Linked DNA regions of Homo sapiens: region 2 is linked to region 1. The links are contacts of gene promoters, found by promoter capture Hi-C in human tissues and cell types (Jung and others, 2019). All regions are on one chromosome and are shown on one strand. The core of a region is centred on a gene start or on the middle of the fragment in contact, and the rest is flanking DNA. Distances in the headings are between cores, read along the strand shown. Region 1 holds the start of SEH1L (SEH1 like nucleoporin). Region 2 has its middle 55 kb from the start of ZNF519.

The links. Contacts are between HindIII fragments. The study calls those that stand out against the background at their distance.
Region 2: a fragment that was not itself captured here is called in contact with the fragment with the promoter of SEH1L in region 1 in 1 of the 25 tissues and cell types used here (dorsolateral prefrontal cortex).

What each region holds. Positions count from the first base shown.
Region 1 is chr18:12,944,620-12,951,695 of GRCh38, reverse strand. It overlaps SEH1L (SEH1 like nucleoporin), which reads right to left and starts at 3,685. Exons shown (of 9, transcript NM_001013437.2): 1 at 3,464-3,685. The coding sequence starts at 3,574. RefSeq lists an enhancer at 2,505-3,106 and silencers at 3,038-3,137, 3,148-3,497, 3,538-3,987. The HindIII fragment of the contact is 16,054 bases long and covers 1-5,202 here.
Region 2 is chr18:14,074,209-14,081,284 of GRCh38, reverse strand. It overlaps a transcript of ZNF519 not described here and the pseudogene VN1R73P. Among named protein-coding and RNA genes, the nearest start is that of ZNF519, 55 kb to the left of the region's middle. The HindIII fragment of the contact is 5,999 bases long and covers 1,195-7,076 here.

The DNA of each region.
Region 1 (7,076 bases), core at 2,436-4,935:
TGAGAGGCTGGGTGCGATGGCTCATGCCTGTAATCCCAGCACTTTGGGAGGCCAAGGCAAACGGATCACCTGAGGTCAGGAGTTCGAGACCAGCCTAGACAACGTGGTGAAACCCCGTCTCTACTAAAAATACAAAAATTAGCCAGGCATGGTGCCGCATGCCTATAGTCCCAGCTACTAGGGAGGCTGAGGCAAGACAATCGTTTGAACCCCAGAGGCGGAGGTCGCAGTGAGCTGACATCACGCCACTGCACTCCAGCCTGGGAGACAAAGCAAGACTCCGTCTCAAAAAATTTACATTGAGAACCTTGAATGTGTCAAGCACTGGGCCAAGCACCAAGGGATTCAGGAAGCTGAGCTCTATTAGGTAACAGAGACAATTAGTTACAGTCACTACGCTTGGAGGCCATTTTAAACAGCAAAATCACCAACAGAAAGAACAAATAATCATTGCACTAAATAAATCATGAAAAACACCTGCTTACAGTATGAGCCAAAATAGAGTATCGCCTGGTTTCACCTCAATGGGAAACGTCTGTCCTGAGACTCAAACTTTTTCACCACTCCTCACACATGCACAAATGACTGCAAAACCAGTGTGACTTTTGGGGTACAAGTAAATTTCAGAGTAGACAAATTCAAAAAATACAGAATCTACAAACAACAGGCTCAACTGTACATGTAACAAATGGTAAAGCAAAAATATTGAAACCAGGCATGGTGGTGCACACCTGTAGTCCCAGCTACTCAAGAGGCTGAGGCAGGAGGGATTACTTGAGCCCAGGAGTTTAAGGCTATGATCACGCCCGTGAATAGCCACTGCACTCCAGCCTGGGCAACATGGCAAGACTCCATCTCAAAACAAAAAAATTAAACCTTATTACCCAGAAAAAATATAGATTACAATAAGAAGGTGCCAATTTCACCTGTTAAAAATGTAACGAGGGCAATAACACTATCAAATCAATACTATCACTGGCGGTATAAAACGGTACGACCTGCAAAATAGCAATTTGTCAATTCTCTTCAATAGTGTTTAAAATATCCACTAATTTATCTTCTAGAATTAGCCTAAGAAAATCATTCAAAATACATAAAATGCTAAACTAATGAAAAATTTCAGTACAACACTATTTCTGACAAGACATATACGTATATACACACACTCTACCATGACAACTTAAAACGTTAAAGGAAAAACAGAGGAAATCAATAAATATTAACACATTAGCAATAAGTCTATAATTTTTTCACTTTCTAAAAAGAAAAATATATTACTTGCTCAATTAAAAATATATACAAATAAATACATGGCTCCTCCTTTAAAAAAAAAGTACTCTGGAATAAATGGACCTAAGAGGGCTGGGCAAGGTGACTCACACCTGTAATCCCAGCACTCTGGGAGGCTGAGGTGAGAGGATCACTTGAGCTCAGGAGTTCGAGACTAGCCTGGGCAACGCAGCAAGACCCTGCCTCTACAAAAAAAATGTTTTAATTGGCCAGGCGTGGTGGCGTGCACTCGTAGTCCCAGCTACTGGAGAGGCTAAGGTGGGAGGATGGCTTGAACCTGGGATGTTGAGGCTGCAACAAGCCAAGATCGCACCACTGCACTCCAGCCTGGGTGACAGAGCCAGACTCTGCCTCAAAAAAAAAGGAAAAAGAAAAAAGAAAAAAAAAATTATACTAAGTGAAATAAACCAAATATAAAAGGGCGAATATTCTATGATTCTATTTATCTGAGGTACCTAGAATATGCAAATTAATAGAAAGCAGTAGAATAGAGGTTACCAGAGGATGGGGTGGCGGAACAGGGTGCTCTTGGGTACAGAGTTTCAGTTTAGGATGATGAAAAGGTTCTGGAGATGGGCAGGGGCGACGCTGCACAAAAATGTGAATGCTGTGCTCTATGCCACTGAATTCTACACTTTAAAACGGTTAACGTGGGCCGGGCGCGGTGGCTCACGCCCGTAATCCTAGCACTTTGGGAGGCCGAGGTGGGCGGATCACGAGGTCAGGAGATAGAGACCATCCTGGCTAACATGGTGAAACCCTGTCTCTACTAAAAAATACAAAAAATTAGCCGGGCGTGGTGGCGGGCGCCTGTAGTCCCAGCTACTTGGGAGGCTGAGGCAGGAGAATGGCGTGAACCCGGGAGGCGGAGCTTGCAGTGAGCCAAGATTGCGCCACCCCACTCCAGCCTGGGTGACAGAGCAAGACTCCGTCTCAAAAAAAAAAAAAAAAAAAAAAAAAAAACGGTTAACGTAGTTTATTACAACAAAAATAAACTTGTTTTAAAAAAGAAACTACATCTTTTAAAAATTGCAACACTATTTATAAAAAGTTTATCTTTGAGAGATCACTGGTATCAAACTCGAATGTGAAAAAGGATAAACTATCCTTCAGATTTCCAGTTACTCTGGAGTTGTCGAGAACCAAATAATCCGCACTCCAGCTTTCATTCATCCTGCAACACATCTGGGAGGTTCCTAAATCTCATGTAGCATCCCCACATTAGAAATTCTGCTTGTAGGCCGGGCGCGGTGGCTCACGCCTGTAATCCCAGCACTTTGGGAGGCCGAGGCGCCGAGGCGGGTGGATCACGAGGTCAGGAGTTCGAGACCAGCCTGGCCCACATGGTGAAACTCTGTCTCTACTAAAAAATACAAAAAAAAAAAAAGATTAGCCGGGGGTGGTGGCGTGCACCTGTAATCCCTGCTACTTGGGAGGCTGGGGCAGGATAATCGCCTGAAAGCGGGAGGCGGACGTTGCAGTGAGCCGAGATCGTGCCATTGCACTCCAGCCTGGGTGACAGAGTGAGACTCGGTCTCAAAAAAAAAAAAAAAAAAAGAAAAGAAATTCTGCTTGTCGGAAGTGTCTACAGACGTTTACGGGAACTTCAAGAAACAAACCCTCCGATTCCTGGGCAGCAAGCAGGGAAATCATTGGATGTAAATGGTTTGTATTTTTCTTCCTCGGCGTAACAAAGTGAGCTTCTGCTCTGAACCCACGGAGAAAACCATGTGCCCTGGTGAGAGAACACCGGCGGGGCACAGAACTCGACGCAGCGCCAGCCAGGCAAAGTCTCCCACCAGGTCCCACTGCAGGTCGTCGGGTGAACAGCGCGGGCAAGACCCACGACGCCGAGGCTGACGGTGGGATGCCCCTGGGTTCCCGCCCGCAGCCCCGGCAGCGCGGCCTGGGAGAGGGCCCGGCGTACCCTGCGGGCGGGAGCGCGCACGTGGCACCAGCTGCGCAGGCGCACGGGAGGGCGGCCCGCGAGGCCGCCGTGACCCCACAATACGCGGGCGGGGAGGGCTTCCGCTCAGTCCAGCCAGGGCTCGCCCGCCACCCCACAGCTTCCAGCGGCGTCACTGAACCAAGACACAGCCCCGTTCCCCGCGCCGCCCACCCACTCCCCTTCCTTCCTTCCGGGGTCGGCCCCGCCCGCAAGCGCCGCGCGCACCTTAACGCTCTGATCGCTGGAGCAGGTTGCCATCCGCCGCCCGTGGAAGTCGAAAGAGACATCGTGGATGAGATCCTTGTGGTCCGCCGCGATGCTGCGAGCCACAAACATGGTTTCCGTCGGGCCCGCGCCTCCGAAGAGGACAGTGGCGGCGGCAGCGGCGGCGGCGCGTGGCCCGTAGCCTAGCCAGACCTCGCAGCCCGGGAGCGCACGGCTTGTGCTGCCCACGCCCCCGCACCGCCCCTGCCTATCAAGCCCCGCCCACACACCCTCCGGTCCTTCAAGCCCCGCCCCACCCACCGGCCCGTCAGGCCCCACACAGTCCCCTGGCCCCTCAAGCCCTGCCCACGCCCCGGCCCGTCATGACTCGCCCCACCTTCCGGTCCCTCAAGCCCCGCCCCGCCCCCAGGCCCGTCAAGCCCCGCCTACCCTCCCACCAGAGCCGTCATGCCTCGCCCCACCCTCCCGCCCCCTCAAGCCCCGCCCTGTTCCCGGCTCGTCAATCCTCGTCCCGCCCCCGGCCCGTCATGCCCTACGATCCTGGTGCGGGTTCCTCCAGGCTCTGACCGTTCGGCGGCGGAGGGTGCTCTGCAAAAGGCGAGTTACCTGTGCTGAGAAGTAGTAAGAGCTTATTGGTATACTGTGCAAATGAAGAAAGATGAAAAAGTGAAGACTGCCTCTCACGGTCCTCGGCCCTGAATCATTTAAGTCGACGTTTGGATGTGTTTCCCCCCAGACACATGCGAGGCGCGCGGAGCAGGTGGAGAAGACGAACCGTGGGTTTGGTCAGGAGCCGCGCTCCGTCGGGACGGCTGAAGAGCAGGGAGGGCCGGGGAGACGCCTGAGGGGATGACAAGCAGTCCAGGCTCGGCAGCCTAAGAGCGAAGGCTGGACGGGGAGGAAAGGATCAGAAGTAGTAGTTTAAATGTGTCAAGATTTTACAGGTAGAACAGGCCTGGGGGTGCTAGGAGCCACCACGGGGGTAGGGAAATAGTATGAATTAGAAGAGTCCGCCTGTAGAAACGTGTCATCCCGGGGGAAGGAAGCGGCCGGGGAAGTGGGCTGCTTGCTACCCGGGAGCCAGAGTCCTCCGGGGAAAAGGAAGTGAAGAGGGCCAGAGCCCCTGGGAAGAGGCCTGGCTCAGATCAAGGATTCTGCCAAAACCGGAAAGTGGAGGAGCCAACGACTCGGGGGGTTTTGCTTATCAGGAAAAGGCATTCTAGAGGGCGTAGTGGTAAAGTTAGGATGGGAGACAGTGGAAGCTTGCGTCAGGGGAGCGAAAGTACAGAAAAAAAAAAAATGAGGCTGCAGAAGGGACTTGCCCTTTGGATTTTGGCCAGGAATGACAAAAATGTGAGGTATGGTAAAATTAGCAGGCTGGAAAGTTTTTTAAATGATTAGTCCCAGCTGTCCCCTGATGGATTGCACAGAAACCTGCAAAGAGAAGTGGCGCAATGACCTGACCTTTTTCAACCATAAATAAGATTTTATTGCTACTTTAAGAGGTGGGCCCCACCTCTTATGATAACTGATAACAACTATAACTTTTTTGAAGGTCAAAGACACTCATTTCCAAAGAAAGTGCTCACTATAAAAGTCCAATCAAAATATATTGATTATTATAAAAATATCAAAACAGTTTAAAAATTGTTTTAATTAAATTTAAATACAGACAGTAAACAGATCATTGGTTGCCAGAGATTATCAGAGTGGGAGTGAAGTGTTGAATTAGGTGAAACAGTGGATTTTTTAAAATAGACTTTAGTTTTTAGAACACTTTCAGGTTCACAGCAAAATTGAGCAGAAAATAGAGTTCCCGTATGTACCCCTACTGTCACACATGCACAGCATCCTCCACTGTCAACATCCCATACCAAAGTGGTACCTTTGTTATGATCAGTGAACCTACATTGACACATCATTATCACCCAAAATTCAGAGTTTGCATTAGGGTTCACTCTTGGTGTTTTATTCTGTGGGTTTTGGCAAATATATAATGACATGGATCCACCATTATAGTATCACGCGGAATAGTTTGACTGCCCTGAAAATCCTTAGTGCTCCTGTTCATCCCTTTCTTCCGACAACACCTGGCAACCGCTGATCTTTCCACTGACTGCATGGTTTTGACTTTTCCAGAATGGCATATAATGGGAATCTTGGAGTGGCTAGCCTTTTCAGATTGGCTTCTTTCCTTATAGTAATATGCATTTAAGCTTTCTCCATGTCTTGTCTTGAGAGTTCATTTCTTTTTAGTGCTGAATAATATTCCATTGTCAGGCTGTAACAGTGTTTATTCATTCCCCAACTAAAGGGCATTCTGGTTGTTTCTGTGTTTGGGCAATTATCAATAAAGCTCCTACAAACATCTGTGTACAGGTTTTTGTGTGGACATGTTCGCAACTCCTTTGGGTAGATACCAAGAAGCATGATTGCTGGATCATATTGTAAGAGTAAGTTTAGTTTTGTTTTTTGGGGTTTTGTTTTGTTTTTTGAGACAGGGTCTCACTCTGTCATGGCAGACAATCGTGGCTCACTGCAGCTTTAAATTCCCTGGGTTCAGATGATCCTCCCACCTCAGCCTCCCGAGCAGCTGGGACTACAGGCACAGTGCCACCACACCCAGCTAATTTTTCTGTTTTTTGCAGAGATGGGGTTTCACCATGTTGAGCAGGCTGGTCTCAAACTCTTGGGCTCAAGCGATCCTCTTGCCTTGGCCTCCCAAAGTGCTTGGATTACAGGCATGAGCCACTGTGCCTGGCCTGGTTTTATAAGAAACTTACAAACTGTCTTCCAAAGTGGTCGTGTCAGCCAGGCCTGGTGGCTAAATTACCCTGTAATCCAGCACTTTGGGAGGCCGAGACGGGCAGATTATCTGAGCTCAGGAGTTCAAGACCAGCCTGGGCAACGTGGCGAGACCCGCTTCTCTACTAAAAATACAAAATAAAAATACAAAAAAATGCCCCAGGAGTGGTGGTGGAACCGAGATTGTGCCACAGGACTCCATCCTGGGCAACGCAGGGAGACACTATCTCAAAAAAAAAAAAAAAAGAGAGAGAGAATTTAACACAGGAAACTGGTTACATATATATCCAAGGGGTTAATTAAGAGCAAAAAGGGAACATGTGAGATTACCCAGAGACTAGTAACTACGGGAAACTCTGGGCTGGGAGCGTGAAAGGGAAAATAGTTTTACCCAGTGCTACCATCATTGACTCTGAGGCTGCTGACATTGGCACCTTTACCACCAGCAGGCAGAAAGCCAGGAGCCAATACTCCAGCTTACACTGCAGGCGTCCAACAGAGTAACAGCCATGGGAGCCCACAAGCTCTGAACAGCTGAGGTTCCTGGAGCCTCTGCTAGTACTGCTGGAGCTAGGGCTGAGTGCTGCTGCTACTGCTGCTGTTCACATCACCCCCGAGCAGGAAGCCAGGCTCACCCATTGCCACCACCACCACTACTCAGCTATGTGAGCTGCCTCCACAAATTGGAGAAAAGGTCTTCTTCCTCCTGCATCTGAATCCCCTACTGTCTCTCAATTCAGAACCTAACTAGAAATAGAGAGCTAATAAGAGTCTGGAAAAACAAGCTTGGAGGTTTCCAGTTCATATT
Region 2 (7,076 bases), core at 2,945-5,444, 1.1 Mb before region 1:
CTCACTGTTTCTTATTTAGGTTGACACCCCCATACATGCATAGTGTCCCCCATTAACAACAACCCCCACAAGAGTGACATGTTTCTTACAATTGATGAGTCTATATTGATACATTATCACCCAAAGTCAATAGTTTGCATTACAGTTGACTTTTGAAATGGTACATTCTGTTAGTTTGGACAAATATATAATGACATGTATCTACTATTATAGAGTTAAACAAAATAGTTTCAGTGCCCTAAAAAGACTCCATGCTCTATTTATTCCTTATTCCCCACAAACTCCACTAATTGTTTCACTGTCTCTATAGTTTTACTGTTTCCAGAATATCAAATTGTTGGTCATATACTATTTAGCCTTTCAGACTGGCTTCTTTCACTTAGTAATAAACACTTAAGTTTCATCCATGTATTTTCAGGCTCGATAGCATATATCATTTTAACACTGAATAATATTTTATTTCTGGATGTACTATCGTTTATCCATTTATCTACTGAACAGCATCTTGACTGCTTCCAAGCTTTGGCAGTTATGAATAAAGCTGCTGTAAAGGTCCATGTGAAGATTTGTGTGGACCTAAGTTTTCAGCATCTTTGGGTAAATACTAAGGACTCTAATTACTGAATCAAATAGTAAGAGCATGTTTAATTTTATAAGAAATTGCCAGCCGGGCACGGTGGCTTATGCCTGTAATCCCAGCACTTTGGGAGAACAAGGCGGGCGCATCATGAGGTCAAGAGATCGAGACCATCCTGGCCAACATGGTGAAACCCCGTCTCTACTAAAAATACAAAAATTAGCTGGGCATGGTGGCGTGTGCCTGTAGTTCCAGCTACTCAGGAGGCTGAGGCAAGAGAATTGCTTGAACCCGGGAGGTGGAGGTTGCAGTGAGCTGGGATCGCGCCACTGCACTCCAGCCTGGTGACGGAGCGAGACTCTGTCTCAAAAAAAAAAAAAAAAAAAAAAAAACTGTCAAATTGTCATCCAAACTGGCTGTACCGTTTTACATTCCCACCAGCATGAATGAGAGATCCTTTCGCTTCACGTCTTTGCCAGCATTTGGTGTTGTCAGTGTTCTAGATTTTGGCCATTATAGGTAAGTGTGTACTGATATATTGTTCTTATTTGTTTTTCCCTGGTGAAATATGACGTGGAGCATCATTTTGTCTGCCTCTTTGTCATCTGTGTGTCTTCTTTGGTGAGGTGTTGGCTAAAGTCTTTGGCTCATTTATTATTTTTTTTAGTTATTTTCTTATTTTTGAGTTTTAAGAGCTACGAGATACATGTTTTATAAATATTTTCCTCCAGTCTATGTCTTTTCTTTTCCATTTCTTGATATTGTCTTTCACAGAGTAGAAATGTTTAATTTTGGTAAATTATATGGTTATCAGTTATTTCTTTTAGGAATTAAATCATTGATGCTGTATCTAAAAAGCCATTGCTAAACTCAGGGTCATCTATAATTCCTGTGTGCTATCTTTTAGGAATTTTAGAGTTTTGTGTTTTACATTTAGACTTGTAATCTATTTTGTGTTCATTTTGGTGAAGATGTTAAGGTCTGTGATTCATATTTTAATATGTATATGTCCAGTTCTTCTAGCACCATCTGTTGAAGAGGCTATCTTAGCTACATTTTATTACCTTAACCTCTGAAGTCAAAGATCTGTGGACTATATTTATGTTGGCCTATTTCTAGGTTCTCTGTTCTTCCCATTGATTTGTCTATTATTTCATCAATACCACACTGTCTTCATAACGGTAGCTTTATTGTAAGTCTTGAAACTAAGTAGTATCTCTGTCCTCCAATTTTATTCTTTTCCTACAATATTGTGTTGGCAATTCTAGGTCTTTTGCCTTTTCATATAAGCTTTAGAGTCAGTTTTAATATCCACAAAATAAGTTCCTGGAATTTTTATTGGAATTACTCTGAATATGTAGATAAATTTGATGAAAACTGCCATCTAGACAATATTGTCTTCCTATCTATGAGCATGGTATATCTCTTCATTTGTTTAGTTCTTCTGTTCTTTTCAACTGATAAGAATATTTATTGGACTACAGGTCTCCCTCCTGTGCTGAGGAGTGGACAATGATGAATGCCATATTCTGTAGACAAGTCACCTCTGTGGGCCACATGTCTGATCACAAACAGGAGGGCCATAGAAAGATACAAACACCAAAGGAAAATTGTGAAATTCAAGAATTGGCAACTGTGTCGGAGGCAACCCCTTTTTTTATTCCAGGGTGCCTGTCACTTCCACCAAAATCTGCCAGCTTATGCCAAGGATACTGGTGCTTCTGCTGTTTGGCTCTGCCTCTTAATTGGCTTTGGGTTTTGTACATCTTGAAGTTAGCCAGATAGTGCTTCTTCATCTTTACCTTGAAGGAAAACTTTTTACACATAAAAAGTTTCAGTCACATAGAACATCTATTAGCTTTTATTTTAGTACTTCCTCTGAAAAAGACCATCTTTGTTTCTCATAATCAAGGATTTTTTTTATTAATTTGATTAATTCTATTGATGGATTTCCAAATGCTGAATCTACTTGCATTCTTGGCATAAAGGCCAGTTGATAATAATATAATGTTTAATGTTCTAACACAATGGTTTCTAATATTTAAAACTTTCACAATTATATTCATATGTTCAATACATCTGAAATACTCTATTTGACTTAACCCAGGCAAAGCTGTCATATCACCCTTATGTAGTCTTCCTAAAAATTATTCTTTAAAACTCTTGAATAATTTAGTTAGCATTTGTTTATTAGTAAAATTTATCTCTGGATCATATGAACATGGTACATTTTTGTGTGAAAGGGACTATTTGATAAATGTCTATTTTTTTCTGTAAATATTGTGCAGTTTGGAGTCTCTACAGCAGTAAATTGATAAAATATGTATTCTTAGAATATATATAATGTACATGTACATGTTAATTTGCATTGAATTATACAGCTTCTCCCCTATTAATTTTTTGTATCAGTACATGACTTCAGGCTCCTATGTGCAGAAGTCCTCAACCCCCAGGCTGCAGACCAGTACCTGTCCATGGCCTGTTAGGAAACTGGCCGCACAGCAGGAGGTGAGTGGTTGGAGAGCGAGCATTGCTGCCTGGGCTCTGCCTCCTTTCAGATCAGCAGTGGCATTAGATTCTCACAGAAGCAGCAAACCCTATTGTGAACTGCTCATGTGAGGGATCTAGGTTGCACACTCCTTATGAGACTGTAATGCCTGATCATCTGAGGTGGAACAGTTTTATCCCGAAACCATCTCCGCAACAACACCTGATCCTGTCCATGGAAAAATTGTCTTCCCATCCATGGAACGGGTCCCAGGTGCCAAAAAGGTTGGGGACGACTGCCTATTTGCACCGTAACCTATTGATACATTCTTTACCAGTCTATTGTATGATCCCATTTCTTTATTCATAATTAAATAATAGTTTGGCTCAGGAATTTGGGGAATAACAGAAAATTAGATTTTCAGCAGGGAACACATCAAGGAAGCATAGAATCCAGTAAGACACACTGCCTTGTGGTCAGTCCCTCATGTCCCAGATCTCAGCATTTCCTGCTCCATCTACATGAGTCCTGTCCCTCCAGGGGTCCTGGAAAAGAAGAACCTCTCCAAAACACTCACATCTCTCTGGAGGCACTCACTAGAAAGTTGTAATTGTTTTTGGTAAACAGTAACTGGGAAAATGGTTTTCAAACTATCTTCAGCTCCCCAAGTGTGTACTGTCATTGTTGCTACAGGTGAAATGATTATTGCAGTTTCGAGGGGAGATGATGTCACAAGATCTCGAACCCATATCTCAGAACCGCCTGCCTCCTCCCACACACTCTGGCTGTCCTGACCATCACTTCAAGCCCACCAGCCCTGCAGCAAAAAAAATCAAACGAGTAGTTCAGAAGGCAAAGTCTGCAAGGGAAGGAAGTATATTGGGAGGTACAGTAAGTATTCCTGTCTGGAGAAGGTCTTCTTTGGGGCTAGAAACTGAGCCAGTGCTAAAGCCATGCAGGAAGGAGGAAATAATCAGTGAGCCACGGGCTGAACTTGTGGAAAAGAAATGGAGGGCAAGGTCACAAACCAGTCCCTAACTGCTTCTAATTTAATGTAATCCTCACTGTTTGTCATTATTGCTTTTGATGGCCATGAAATCTGTTTTTTCCCAGTTCTCTAGTGTAATTTGGAATTAATTTCCCAGCTGCTTTATTTTTTTTCTAGAAGAGTCGGGGACATTTTCAGGATTAGTAGAGGTGTTTCTACAACACCTTCATGCCTTCGATAGTGTGTAAGAGTTCACCAATTGAATTACCTTATTCTGTTCAGAAGTAGTAACTATGGAGTTTAACCACTCTGGACATATTATATACTTAATGGAGACCATAGCTGTGTGGTGACTGAAAACATGCATTGTCTACTCCTTATGGTGAGACTGCTTTCCTTCATGAAGTCAGTAAAGAAGGGTAACTTTTCTGTAGATTTTTGTATTTTTAAAAAAGGTCAAGATCTTCGGCAGTTTTCTGAATTGAATTGTTTGTGATATTTGCTCTGTTTTTAAAATCTTCTAAGGCCATTACCAGGTTCAGTGCTTATCTTAGTACAATTTAAATTGATTCCGTGAATAATTTTTCCTGCCTCCAGTTTCCCTTTTACATAGTGGGCTCATGTTTTAATATGTTAAACAATTCTGACATTGAAATAATTTTATTTTATATTTTTGCATCCACAAATACTAATTTTCTCCATATATTAATGGTGATGTAGTTTCTCCTCTGCAATATTTTATTGCCTACTCATGTTTTATGTCCCCTGGATTACAGCACTGTCATTCCACTGTGCCCTATTTCTTGGTTATGATGAAAAGACTCTTAATTCCAGTATGAAATCATTTCTGCATTCCATAAATTTCATTTGGCATCTGTGGAATTAAGGCATCTTCATTGTATTTGGATCTCTGAATCATAAGTGATATTTGCCTATAAATTAAGCAATGATATTTAAATAAGAGATTACCACAATCATATTTTATAAATATACAACCATTTTTAAAAACCTGACAAAATCTACAAAAAAAAGAAAATGAAATATATGTGGAGTTTTAGAAAAGACTGACTAGGTCCAAGGTTGAGGCACATAGTGGTTAAGCACATTGTCAGCTCCGGACTCTGCCTCTTACAAGGAAGGAGGGGGCTTTAGATGTTATTTAGCTGTTATTTAGCCTTTCTACACCTAAGTTCCCCTCACCTGTAAAAAAAAAAATAATAATAAATTGCTTACTTTGTAGAATCATTGTAAATGTTCTATGTAAAATATGAATATAGTACTCACAGTAAATATGTGTGTGTGTGGTGTGTGGTGTGTGGTGTGTAGTTCAGCAATAGAAAATGGAATTTAATAAGAACGTTATGAGTTGAAAACAATGGTCTGTGGACAATATTGAATTTCAGTTGCCAAAATAAAATAGACCTCATGTTTCCCTTCAGGATCCTCTAACTCTGAATATGAATAGAAGTATCAGTCACTGGAAAAGAACAAATGTCCTCTAGGGATGTGGCAATAGGAATAATCTTATCTCAGACCATAATTGGGTTCCTGATGAAAATATTTTTTCTTTAGCATTGTATTTCTCTTTATTTCACCAAATGCACATTAAGGTCTACAGATCTGATTCTCAAACACCTGGCTGTAGCCACCTCCTTTGTGATACTTTATAAAGGAGCCCCACAGAGAATGCCTGCTTTTGGGTTGAAACATTTTCTCAATCATAATTAGGTACAAACTTGTTTTCTATGTTCACAAAGTGGGCAGGGCTGTGTGCATTGGCACCACTTGCCTTTTGAATATCTTCTAGGCCATCACAGTCAGCCCCATGTACTCCTGCTGGGCAGACCTGAAACTACAAGCTCCCAAATAGAATGGGTGCTCCAACATCCTCTGCTGGATTGTGATATGCTGGTAACCGCACGTGACTGGCAAGTGGAATGGCGAAAACAACACAAAGAAGGATTTGGTTACTGTTCTGCAGTAGTTAATAACTGATATGGTTTGGCTATGTCCCCACTCAAACCTCATCTTGAATTCCTATGTGTTGTGGGAGGAACTTGGTGGGAGGTGATTGAATTATGGGGGCAGGTCTTTTCTGTATTGTTCTCGGGATGGTGAATGAGTCTCATGAGACCTGATGGTTTTAAAAACAGGAGTTTCCCTGTACAAGCTCTCTCTTTGCCTGCTCCCATCCATGTAAGACCTGACTTGCTCCTGCTTACCTTCCGCCATGATTGTGAGGCCTCCCCAACCATGTGGAACTGAAAGTTTGTTAAACCTTTTTTTCTTCCCAGTCTTGGGTATGTCTTTATCAGCAATGTGAAAAAAAATGGACTAATACAGCAAAGTGGTATCAGTAGAGTGGGGTGCTGCTGAAAAGATACCCAAAAATTTGGAAGCGACTTTGGAACTGGGTAACAGGGAAAGGTTGGAATACTTGAGATGGCTCAAAAGAAGAAAGGAAAATGTGGGAAAGTTTGGAACTTCCTAGAGACTTGTTGAATGGTTTTACCCAAAATGCTGATAGCAATAAAGTCCAGGCTAAGGTGGTCTCAGATGGAGATGAGGAACTTGTTGGAAACTGGAGCAAAGGTGACTCTCGTTATGTTTTAGCAAAGAGACTGATGGTATTTTGCCCCTGCCCTAGAGATTTGTGGAACTTTGAACTTGAGAGAGATGATTTAGGGTATCTGGCAGAAGAAATTTCTAAGCAGCAAAGCATTCAAGAGGTGACTTGGGTGCTGTTAAAGGCATTCATTTTTTAAATCAATACCTCCTGAAGTCCTCCTGAGAGCGCCAGATATGCATTCGGGCCACATGGAGCAGAAAAGGAGGGCTCCATCACTCCCTGCTGGCCATCAGGGTGCAGTGCAGGACACTCAGAGCTCAATACTTAGTTGTTTCCCAGTGCCCCCTGCTAGACCTCCTACCGAATCCTGAAATTCTCAATTTCTTGATCTGTCTGCTCCTTTGGCTGAACATGCGTCAAATCCACGGGAGCATCACAAAAGGATTCTTTCTCA